Regions from separate parts of the Homo sapiens genome. Here all the other regions are linked to region 1. The links are contacts of gene promoters, found by promoter capture Hi-C in human tissues and cell types (Jung and others, 2019). All regions are on one chromosome and are shown on one strand. Each heading gives the region's core, a stretch centred on a gene start or on the middle of the fragment in contact. The rest is flanking DNA. Distances are from core to core; before and after follow the strand shown. Region 1 holds the start of PATZ1 (POZ/BTB and AT hook containing zinc finger 1). Region 2 overlaps TCN2 (transcobalamin 2). Region 3 holds the start of MTFP1 (mitochondrial fission process 1). Region 4 holds the start of OSBP2 (oxysterol binding protein 2).

Evidence for each region. The method cuts DNA at HindIII sites, captures the fragments that hold promoters and counts their contacts. A contact is called where the count stands out against the background at its distance.
Region 2: a fragment that was not itself captured here is called in contact with the fragment with the promoter of PATZ1 in region 1 in 1 of the 25 tissues and cell types used here (aorta).
Region 3: the fragment with the promoter of MTFP1 here is called in contact with the fragment with the promoter of PATZ1 in region 1 in 1 of the 25 tissues and cell types used here (H1 embryonic stem cells).
Region 4: a contact is called between the fragment with the promoter of OSBP2 here and the fragment with the promoter of PATZ1 in region 1, in 1 of the 25 tissues and cell types used here (dorsolateral prefrontal cortex).

The regions. Positions count from the first base shown.
Region 1 is chr22:31,344,981-31,347,680 of GRCh38, reverse strand. PATZ1 (POZ/BTB and AT hook containing zinc finger 1) reads left to right here and starts at 1,335. Exons shown (of 5, transcript NM_014323.3): 1 at 1,335-2,700. The coding sequence starts at 2,079. LINC01521 (long intergenic non-protein coding RNA 1521) reads right to left here and starts at 922. Exons shown (of 1, transcript NR_120386.1): 1 at 1-922. RefSeq lists silencers at 830-1,049, 1,100-1,169, 1,540-1,959, 2,510-2,579. The HindIII fragment of the contact is 10,371 bases long and covers 1-2,700 here.
Region 2 is chr22:30,620,450-30,623,149 of GRCh38, reverse strand. TCN2 (transcobalamin 2) reads right to left here. Exons shown (of 9, transcript NM_000355.4): 8 at 67-182. Among named protein-coding and RNA genes, the nearest start is that of SLC35E4, 14 kb to the left of the region's middle. The HindIII fragment of the contact is 9,250 bases long and covers 1-2,700 here.
Region 3 is chr22:30,424,479-30,427,178 of GRCh38, reverse strand. It overlaps MTFP1 (mitochondrial fission process 1), which reads right to left and starts at 1,411. Exons shown (of 4, transcript NM_016498.5): 1 at 1,233-1,411; 2 at 335-462; 3 at 1-8. The coding sequence starts at 1,299. SEC14L2 (SEC14 like lipid binding 2) reads right to left here. Exons shown (of 12, transcript NM_012429.5): 12 at 1,876-2,700. RefSeq lists enhancers at 32-592, 593-1,151. The HindIII fragment of the contact is 6,033 bases long and covers 399-2,700 here.
Region 4 is chr22:30,693,513-30,696,212 of GRCh38, reverse strand. OSBP2 (oxysterol binding protein 2) reads right to left here and starts at 1,339. Exons shown (of 14, transcript NM_030758.4): 1 at 660-1,339. The coding sequence starts at 1,303. RefSeq lists silencers at 1,153-1,202, 1,587-1,666. The HindIII fragment of the contact is 4,458 bases long and covers 1-2,700 here.

The sequences.
Region 1 (2,700 bases), core at 86-2,585:
GGCGCGCAGCGGTGGGAATCCCGAGCGGAGTTGGAAGCCGGGCCCGTTCATTTGCATGCTAATACCCAGAATGCTTTTCCCCCGCACACCGCTTCTCTTAATGGAAGCGCTCAGTTTGGAACCGTGGAAAGTTTGGAACACATACTTCGCTGCCTCTTTGCAACTGTGGGAACTTCCCGCCCGCACACGCGGCGCCTGCAGCCTGGGGCTCCGCGCCAGGCGGCCCAAAGGCAGCCGCCAGCGCTTCCTGGGAAGACAAACCTTGGTGTACAACTCTAGCGTGGTAGCATCCCCGGGCGGGCCGGGGACAAAGCGCCGAGGCCTGGCGGCAGGGCCCATTACCAGAGCACCCGGCGTCTCACAGGGCTGCGGGCGCTGGGGATGCTCCGGGCTTGGAGAGGCCTGAGGGTGTCCCCGACTCCTCCGGCACCCCCACTTCCCTGAGGATTGCTGGGGCTTCCGGGGGTCCCTGCCCCGTCCATCGCCCTCATATTGTCGCCTCCCGGAGCTGGTGACTTCACGCTCCCCGGGGACAAAGCTCGGCGTGCTGTGGTTTGGGGGAGAAGCTGGACGCTGGCTTCATCTCTCCAGCTCTTCCGGGCGCGCAGCCCATCAGATCGATCAATGTACCGGGTGCAGAAGCAGCTCCGGAGGTTCGGCCTGTCTCCGGCCAGGACCCCGGGCCCTCTCTGGTGTTTGAAGCAGGGAGGCGGTCGCAGGCGACTTCTGGGAATTTCACGCATGAAAGCGGGGCTCCGAAGGGTGGACGACGCCCGCTCGACCTGCGAGTGCGCTTCGCAGGCTGGGGGGCCCGGATCCGCACCCCTCAGTTCCTGCCCCCCCACCCTGCTAGCCGCCACTCTCAGCGGGCAGGGGAGGGGCAGTGGGAGCTGGTTTGCTGGCTCGGCGCTTCGTTTGCATTGGTCCGGGGGGGCTGAGACTGCAGCCCCCGGCCCCGCGGGCGGGGTGGGGAGGCGGGGGCCGGACGGGGGCTCAGGCTGCTCTAGCATTGGCGGATCTGGGGAATGGGGAGGGGGGGCAGGAAGCGGGGGGAGCGGACTGCGGGGGGGGGGTGTATAAATAGGGAAGGGGGGACGTGCATCCTCGTCTTGGTGAGGGGGGGGCGCTCGGCACAAAGAAAGTGTAAAGTTTGCAGCGCCAGGCGGCCCGGGCTAGGCATCCGGGCGCGCACGTGCAAGGCCGGGGACGCCGGGGCCCCCACTCTGAGCTCGCCGTTTCTTTTTTTTCTGCAAGCGAGAGGGGGGGTGTTGTTGGTATCGCCCCCTCCTTCTCCTCCCCCCAGGGGTGAAAGTGCAAGAGGAAGTGCAGCCGCTGCCATCTTTCCTCCGCTCCGAACACACGGAGCCCGGGGCCGCACAGCCGCCGCTCCGCCGCCGCCTTCTCCCGGCCTGAGGAAGGGCCTACTCTGCCGCCGCCGCCGCCCGCCCGCTCCAGCCGCCGCCGCCGCCGCCACCGCCCTCCAGGCTCCGGGACCCGGCCCGCGCCACCGCCCCCGTGCGCGCCCCGCCGCCGCCGCCTTCGCCTTCGCCTTTTGTTTCCTCCGCTCCGGCGCCCCCGCCCCGGCTCGCGCTTTGCAGGGGACGCAGCGCGCGCCCCCAGCGGGCCCGGGAAAAGCCGCGGCGCGCGCGCGCGCCTGCGCGGCGGACCCCTCCTTCTCCTCCCCGCGTGCGCGTGCCCTTCTTGGCTGCGCGCCGGCGCCGCCTGGCGGGCGGGAGGGGAGGTGGCAGGCGCGTTTGCAGGAGGGGCGCACCTCTTCGCTCGCGCACCCCCCCGGAAGGTAGACCGGGAAGGGGAGGCGGGCGGGCGGAGAGGAGAGAGTGGCGCGCAGTCCAGCGAGGGCGGGGGTTGGCTATGTGGGGGGTGGTGCACCCCGCAGTCTAGACAGTCTGATCCGGGCTGGGGGCGTGTACACTCGGCGCACCTGCGAGACTACAGAGCCTCGGGCCGGCACGTGTGGGGAGTGTGGACACGTCTGCTGCGCCCCGCTTCTCGCTGCTGAGGGGAAGGGAGGGGGCGGGCAGGTGCAGCGGCCGGGCTAGTGGGAGGGGGCGGCGGCCATGGAGCGGGTGAACGACGCTTCGTGCGGCCCGTCTGGCTGCTACACATACCAGGTGAGCAGACACAGCACGGAGATGCTGCACAACCTGAACCAGCAGCGCAAAAACGGCGGGCGCTTCTGCGACGTGCTCTTGCGGGTAGGCGACGAGAGCTTCCCAGCGCACCGCGCCGTGCTGGCCGCCTGCAGCGAGTACTTTGAGTCGGTGTTCAGCGCCCAGTTGGGCGACGGCGGAGCTGCGGACGGGGGTCCGGCTGATGTAGGGGGCGCGACGGCAGCACCAGGCGGCGGGGCCGGGGGCAGCCGGGAGCTGGAGATGCACACTATCAGCTCCAAGGTATTTGGGGACATTCTGGACTTCGCCTACACTTCCCGCATCGTGGTGCGCTTGGAGAGCTTTCCCGAACTCATGACGGCCGCCAAGTTCCTGCTGATGAGGTCGGTTATCGAGATCTGCCAGGAAGTCATCAAACAGTCCAACGTACAGATCCTGGTACCCCCTGCCCGCGCCGATATAATGCTCTTTCGCCCCCCTGGGACCTCGGACTTGGGCTTCCCTTTGGACATGACCAACGGGGCAGCCTTGGCAGCCAACAGCAATGGCATCGCCGGCAGCATGCAGC
Region 2 (2,700 bases), core at 194-2,693, 720 kb after region 1:
ATGAAGCCTCTTGGCTGAGTAAGCTTGGGGTAGGGGACACATCCAGAGTGTCAGGCCATGACTCACCTTGCAACAGTGGGGTGTTGGGGTCTCGGAGAAGCTGCCAGAACTCCCTTTCTCCGGCCGCTTTCCCCATCACGGAGGTTAAGTAGGGGCCTGACAAGGAGGCCTGTGTTTCATATCTACAGAAGGGAAAGGCAAATGGGGAGAGAAGAGGTGGCTGTTGTCCCTAAGGGGAGAGGCAGTGCTCACCCACAGCAGCAAAATCCCTTCCAAGCTCTTTGGGCCGACACTCGTCAAACCCTTCCCAGGCCACCTGGCCACAGGTCTGTGATCTCAACTTCCACCTCCTTCCCCTCCAGACCCCCGATCCTGCCTGCTCAGGCTTCATCCTCTCCACGCTGACCATGACCATGGCCTCCAGGAAAGGGGCATCTATTATGTTATCAGCTCAGCAGTTGTCCCCTCTCTGGGGGGCTGATGTTATGGGGGATGAGAATCAGAAGCTGCTGGTGTCACCTAGAATGTGTACAATGTACAACGAGAGAGGGTGAAGCCTGCATACAGAGACAGGCAGGGTCATGGGAAGTGGAGGCAGAGACACCTGGCAGTGGCACTGGGTCTCTGTGGCTCAGTGGCATTCCCCTCTTCTCGGGGCTGCATGGCTCAGCCTCCTCTCTGATTCTACATGCTCTACACCCGCTGTTGTGGAGAGGCTTGGAGTTCGGTTTCTGGCCCTGGCAGCCAAGAGACTCCTCAACTCACACTCCCCCTTCCCTGAGCTTCTGGCCTTCAACTTTGAGTTTCTGCACTCCGTCTGGATGCCACTGCCACAGGAAGCCTCTTAAAACTCCGTGGGCCTGGGCCAGGCACAGTGGCTCAACCCTGTAATCCCAGTACTTTGGGAGGCCAAGGCAGGCAGATCACCTGAGGTTGGGAGTTCGAGACCAGCCTGACCAACATGAAGAAACCCCATCTCTACTAAAAACACAAAATTAGCCAGGTGTGGTGGTTCATGCCAGTAATCCCAGCTACTGGGGAGGCTAAGGCAGGAGAACCGCTTGAACCCGGGACGTAGAGGTTGCAGTGAGCTGAGATCGTACCATTGTACCCCAGCCTGGGCAACATGAGCAAAACTCCATCTCAAAACAAAACAAAACAAACTCCGTGGGCCACGTCCTTCATCCCTCCCACAGGAGAAAGCAGCATGATCAGGGCTTCCCCTGGAAGAAGGGCTTCAAGAGATGAGTGGGATTTGCCAGAGGAGAAGGGAGGAGAGCGGGGCAGAGCTGAGAGGAGGCAGAGAGAAGAAAGGCACACAGGTGCACAGAATTTGGGGGAATGGTCTTTCAAAAGAGCAGGGTCAGGCCAGGCACTGTGGCTCATGCTTGTAATCCCAGCACTTTGGGAGGCCAAAGCGGGTGGATCACTTGAGGTCAGGAGTTCATGACCAGCCTGGACAACATGGTGAAACCCCATCTCTACTAATAATACAAAAATTAGGCTGGGCATGGTGGTGCACACCTGTAATCCCAGCTATTCAGGAGACTGAGGCAGGAGAATCACTTGAACCTAGTAGGCGGAGGTTGCAGTGACCTGAGGTCGCACCACTGCACTCCAGCCTGGGTAACAGAGCAAGACTGCTTCTCAAAAACAAAACCAAGCAAACAAACAAAAAACAACAAATGAGCAGGTTCTGGGAGAATGCAAATGACTGAAAAGGAGGTGAGACCGTCAAAGTAACAGGGAAGTGATGTGAACAAACGCATCTTCTACAAAGTGCTCTCTGGGGTAATACAGCCCTAAGTTATCGATGGTTGCAGTCTTAGAGGGATTTTTTTGGTTTTAAGAAACACAGGTGGGGCGCGGTGGGTCACATCTGTAATCCCAGCACTTGAGGAGGCGGAGGTGGGTGGATCACCTGAGGTTGGGAGTTTGACACCAGCCTGGCTCACATGGTGAAACCCTATTTCTACTAAAAATACAAAAACTAGCCAGGTGTGATGGTGGGCCCCTGTAATCCCAGCTGCTCAGGAGGCTGAGGCAGGAGAATCGCTTGAACCCAGGAGGTGGAGGTTGCAGTGAGCCGAGATCGTGCCACTGCACTCCAGCCTGGGCGACTGAATGCAACTCCGTCTCAAAACAACAACAACAACCACCACCCTATTTGGGGTGACTTTAGCGAAGGGAAACTACTGTTCTAAGGAATGTCACAGAGTAGCCCTTTTCCCATTCCTTAACTCTGCAGGGCCATGTGGCTGCACAGGGCTACCTCTCTCCACATCTGTCTATCTGTGTCTGCAGTTGAGCTTTCTCTGCTGTGCATTCAGGGGCCTCAAACATAGTCTTCATGCCTGAACCCAGTTGAGGCATCCATGCACACTAACAAGAGAACCATTTCTCAGACTGGAGTCCACAGTGTCTTCCCAGAGATCCCCGAGCTCTGAATAAAAACGTTAAATTCTAATTGTCTTTCATTTTGATGACAATATTCAAACATGAATACCAGCTGGTTCTGGGTAATCTCAGTCTGTGGGTCTGAGCCCTCCCAAGGGCACTCAGCCTATGCGTGGCCATCAGTGACTGCGCTGGTGCCCAGCAGCATTGCGTTATGTGCCATAGGCCACAGGAAGGAAACGGAGGTGGCCCTCATAGTGAATGAAGTGGCTGAGCCAGGCCAGGAGTGCCCAGGCTTCACTG
Region 3 (2,700 bases), core at 162-2,661, 920 kb after region 1:
CTGGGCACCTGGTGGGCGCAGAGACACTTAATCCAGCTGGGGCAGAGGCAGAAAATCCTGCGACAAGGGGCACGAGGCTAGACCGGGAGGGGCAAGTGGCCAGTGGACTTGTCCGCACCCAGGAGTGGGGTACAGTCTGCCACATCCAGTTCGGGGAGTGGGAGTGTGGGGGCAGGGGTACACTGTCCTACAAACAGGACTGTCTATGGACTGCACTAGGCAAGGTTGTAGGGACTGGAGTGTCCCACAGGGACTTTATCACATGCAAGGCTGTGGACTGAACCACACAAGAAGAGAGCTAGGGTTGGGGGTTGGAAAATAGGCTAACACTCACCTCTCCAGCCTTCTTGCCTTTGTCAATGGCATCCGCCAGCACGTAGGAGCTGGCCACGCCATAGCTCAGCCACACCACCGCCGCTGGCACAAGAGAGCGGAAAGCCTCGCCCACCTCATTGGCATAGCCTGGGGGAGGGAACATTTAATTCCTAGGCTCGCAACTGTTCCACGAGGGGGCGTTGGAGCAGGCTGGTTCTCATCCTAGCCAGCTAAGCAGTCCCTGGGTGACCTTAGGCAAGTGACTTGACCTCTCTGAGCCTCCCTTTCCGAGATGTAAACTGGTGCCATGATGCCCACCTCGGACTCGGGCCACTGAGGGCGGACTGAGCACTGAGTCACTGTTACCATTGCTTATTGGTTAGATTTCCTGGTCTTGGTCCCAGGAGTAACTGCACTAATGAGGTGACAGGCACCCAGAGGGGCAGAGTGATCGAGGGCAGCGCCACTGACCAGACGCTCGCCAAGTGCCAGGGCTTTCTGCGCTTTATCCCATTCCACCCTCGCAACCACCACCCAATGAGAGAGGCCCTCGTGTGTATCTCGTTTGTTTTTTGTTTTGTTTTTGTTTTTTTGCCGAGGAGGAAACTGAGGTTCAGACAGAGCCAGTGCGTGTCAGGACCGAAATGGGAGTGGAGATCCCGACTCCACAGCCAGCCAGAGCGCATGCCAGAGCGGGCAGCCCGCTCACCCCATGGGAGCTTCCGCCCTGGGCGACCCACCAGGGTAGTGTGACCTTGGGCAAGTCCCTAGCCCTGTCTGAGCCCAGTCTCCGGCCCAAAAGCAGAATGAGAACTAAGATCATCCCGCCTCCTCCAGGCCCCGGGCGGGCGTCCGGCGACCCCTGCTTCTCCAGCCCAGTGGTGGTGGGGTCGCCGCGCCCGTCGCCCCGCGCTCACCCAGGTATCGCACCCACGTGTCCCGGTAGAGATCGCGCTCTGCGCCCCGCGGCTGCGGCTCTGACATGACTCTCCCGCCACGGCCCCGGCCACTACAGCCGGTACTGGCTCCACTGCAGTCTCCGCCGCCGGCACTTGGGTCTGCCCGGCCGGGACCCGCCGAAAGTCCCGCGCCGAAGGACAGGTCAGGAAATCTCCGCCAGCAGGGAGCGTCTGCAAATTCCCCCCGCGCACCGAAGCCCCTCTCCCAGGCTCGGGTTTTACAGACTGGTTTTCGTCACGTTTTCTCTGAGCTGTTGGCGCTAATCGCTCCCAGGACTGAGTGTAGGTTTTGGAGCCAAAGAGACAGGGGATCAAGTTGGGGGATGCTACACTGCAAAGCTTGTGACCTCGGGCTTATCCAGCATCTCTTTATTCATTTGTAAAAACGAGGGAGGGACACAGGCTGGGCCCGTTGGCTCACGCCTGTGATCCCAGCACTTTGGGAGGCCGGAGGCGGGAAGATCTCTTGAGCCCAAGGGTTCGAGAACAGCCTGGACAACATAGCGAGACCTCGTCTCTACTAAAAAAAAAAAAAAAAAATTAATGTAATAAATAAAATGGGGAACACAATAGTGTCCACTCCCTAGGATGGTTCCGAGGATTAATTATAACAGTCACCATTTATTGAGTTTATTGCCAGTCTACATGTTCGCTAAAGGACTCTCCATGTCTTACACCTGAAACCCTCCCACCAGCCTGGGAGCCCGTTTTACAGGTGAGAAAATGGAGGCACAGAGAAGGTGGGTCATTTTCCCAGAACACACAGCTGCTAAGTGGTGAAGTTGTGATTTGAATCCAAACAGTGTGGATCCAGATCCCGTGCTCTTAATGCGAGCTCTAAATGAGGCTAGAGGAGTGAACGGTGAGCCCCTGGGAGGTAGGTGCCTGGACTCTGGAGTCCCTTCTCAGCAGTCGCCATGTATAACTAGGAAGCACTCGCATTTAACTGGATCAGTATGTCCCCAGACTGAGCTTCTTGGGGACAGGATGTTGGATGAATTAATTAACGAATGAATGAATCGGGCAAGGGAGACAGAGTTGGGGTTAGTGATTACAACAGGAGGAAGCCTTCCCCCGCTGGACCTCAGTTCACCCAGGTGAGCAATGTGTGCACTTCACTAAGTCTCTGTGACTCCTTGGCGGGTATAATTGAGCGGCGTTGGAGACAATCCTGGGTTCAAATCCTAGCTGTGCCGCCTACTGGCTGTTAGCCTCCCTGAGCCCCAGTTCCCACGTCTGCAAAAAAAATGAGAGTAGCCAACATTGACGAGCACTTACTTATACCAAGCTCTTAAGCGCTTTGCACGGCTTATTTCCTTTAATCTTTGCAACAACCCAAAGTGTAATAGTAAGCACAGGGTTTTTGCGTGATACCCGGTAGGCCTTATTAAGAATTAGCTCTTATTTTCATCAAAGGTAGAGAAAA
Region 4 (2,700 bases), core at 90-2,589, 650 kb after region 1:
TCTCACCACTGGACTTTAATTTTGAATCCCGTGCTGGGTCTGGAATAAGAAAGGAGGGCAGCAAAACACTTCCTAGCTCTCCGCAAAATGCCAAGATGGACTCCTGAAGGCCAAGAACCGTGTCCAATACATCTGTGAGTCTGTGGTGCCCAGCCCAAGGCCTGGCAACCAGAGGCATCAGGAAAGGTGGGAGTAACTGCCCCAGGCGGGAAGAATAAGCAGCCCTTCCTAAGAGTGTGGGTCCTAAGGACTGAACAAGGTGACTCTCTCCCTCAATCCCAAACACACAATGATGTTAGCTCCCGAACCAGAAAGGGCAAGGACTTTGAGGGGCTGACTCTAGCTAGCTGCCCCAAGCCCCACAACTGCCAAGCAGAAGGGAACTGAGGCCCCAGATCACTCCCTTACTCCACCTCCCCACTTGCCCAAAAACCCAAGCTTGCCAGAGGTCATGTCCGCAGATCACATTCACCCTTGCCAGAGGTCAGGGCCCCCGGCCCTTGGCGGCGGGCCAGAAGCGTGACTTGGCCTGCTGGAATGCATGCCCCTAAACATCTCTAGACTAGTGGCAGTGTCCGCCAACCATGGAGGCCCTCCATCACCATCCCTGCAGCATCACCACCCTCCAACCCCCATGTCCCACCCTGGCGCTTCCATACCTGTAGTAAGAGAGCAAACCATTGCCCAGCACGAACCAGCGGCGCTGGTAGCCCTTCAGATAGTTGGTCCACTTGAGAAGCCAGCCCTCGAAGCTGTCCAGAGGCAGTAAGGCCAGTGGGGCACTGGAGGTCGTGCCAGTCCCCGACATTGGAACCCCAAGAGGAGTCTTCGCCTGTCCTGGTCGCAGAAGAGGCAGGGGCTTTAACGCTGGCAGCGATCCTGACTCGGGTCTGAGAAAGGTCGCGCTCCCCACCGCCCGGGAGAGCGGCTCCGATGCGGCCTTAGTGAAGGGCCCAGCCCCTACACCTGAGCTTGACTCTGACCCCGGCCGCGACCCCTGCAGCAGTTCCGATGGCTGCCCAGCCCCTGGCTCCGGCTCAGACGTCGTCTCGGACACAGGTTCCGATCTTGGCACTGCCTCCGAAACTGCCTCCGACACCTGTTCTGACAGCGGTCCCCGCTCCGGTTCGGGCACGGGCTGGGGCTGGGGCTTGGGCTCCGGCCCGGAGCCGGACGTGGAAGCGCTCATGCCCGGCGCCGCCGTGTGGCACGACAGGCAGGGGACAACCGTGAACAGCGACGAGAGCCCGCGGGAGCGGCCGCCACAGCCGCCGCCTCGGCTCGGAGCCGCCGCTTTCCCCATAGAGCCGGCCGACCCGCGCGCGGCCGAGCGGCCAGTGGGGGCGGGGGGCAGGCCGGGGGCGGGGCCGGGGGCGCAGTCACGTGCGCGCGGCGCGAGGCGGGGGCGCGCGCGGGTTCCTCCGCGGTCCCGTGCGCTCCGTGCCCGTCAGCGCCCGCCGGCTGTTGTGCTCTCGGCCAGCCTCGGGCCATGTTTGGACCCTGGGTCCTTCCTAGGTCCGGCCGGTGGAAGGAGCTCTGACAACACCTGTGGGCGGAAGAGCTTGGTGGTCGGTCAACTCCGAAGGGGATGGCGCGCTTCAGGCCACGGTCTCTGCTTCGGCCCAGCCGTGCCAGGCGCTGGAGGAACAATGATGAATGCGGAGCCCGCCAGCTCCCAGCGCAGCTCTGCCCACGGGACCCTGCGCCGACGCCCCCTCCCCCAACCCAGGCTGGGGTGGGTTCGCTCTCCGCCACCCAGGAAAGCCGGGTGGGAAGCAGGTACGGCACCCAGAGGCCACGAAATGCGCACGAAGCACAGGGGCGCTAAAGGCTAAAGACGACGCCCCGCCCCCCATGGCAGCCATTACCTGTCTGTGGGTCGCTCCTGCGGCCGCCAGAAGCGGTGGCCCCAAGTGGCCGCCTCACCGCCTCCACCTCCTGAGCCAGCTGGCCTACGGTTCATGCCAAGGCGCTTCGCTGCCAGTGACGACATCGTTCGGGTTCTCTAAACAAATAGGGGAAGACTTTTTGTAAACCAAGCGTTTTAGTACAAGAAACATCTCAAAGTGGGATTCTGAACTTGGACCTCCCGGGATCCCTGGGTAGGCTGGCAGTCTGTGAGGCTTCCGCAGAGGTTTACCTGTCTGTGCATTTTTCCAGAGTAGGTCCATAACAAAGGAGGCTGTGACCCCAGAATGGTTAAAACATCAGCGAATTTTTTTTTCCGCTTTTTTTTTTTTTCCTTTTTGAGACTGAGTCTCACTCGGTAGCCCAGGCTGGAATGCAGTGGCGTGATCTTGGTTCACTGCAGCCTCCGCTTCCCAGGTTCAAGCGATTCTCCTGCCTTGGCCTCCCTAGTAGCTGGAATTCCACGGCCCGCACCATGCCCAGCTAAATTTTGTATTTTTAGTAGAAACGGGGTTTCACCATGTTGGTCAGGCTGGTCTTGAACTCCTGACCTCAGGCCAGGATCCTCCCGCCTCGGCCTCCCAAAGTGCTAGGATTACAGGCGTGAGCCACTGTGCCCAGCCATCAGTGATTTTTTTTTTTTCTTAAGAATCTATCCAAATGACGAAAGTTGATGGTTACTACAAATAATCAGAAATACAAATGGAAAGACTGAACATTGGGTTTCTGTCCAGACTTTTCAAGCTTAGACCTCTCTGCAGACTCCTCTTAGCTCACCATCACGTCTTACTC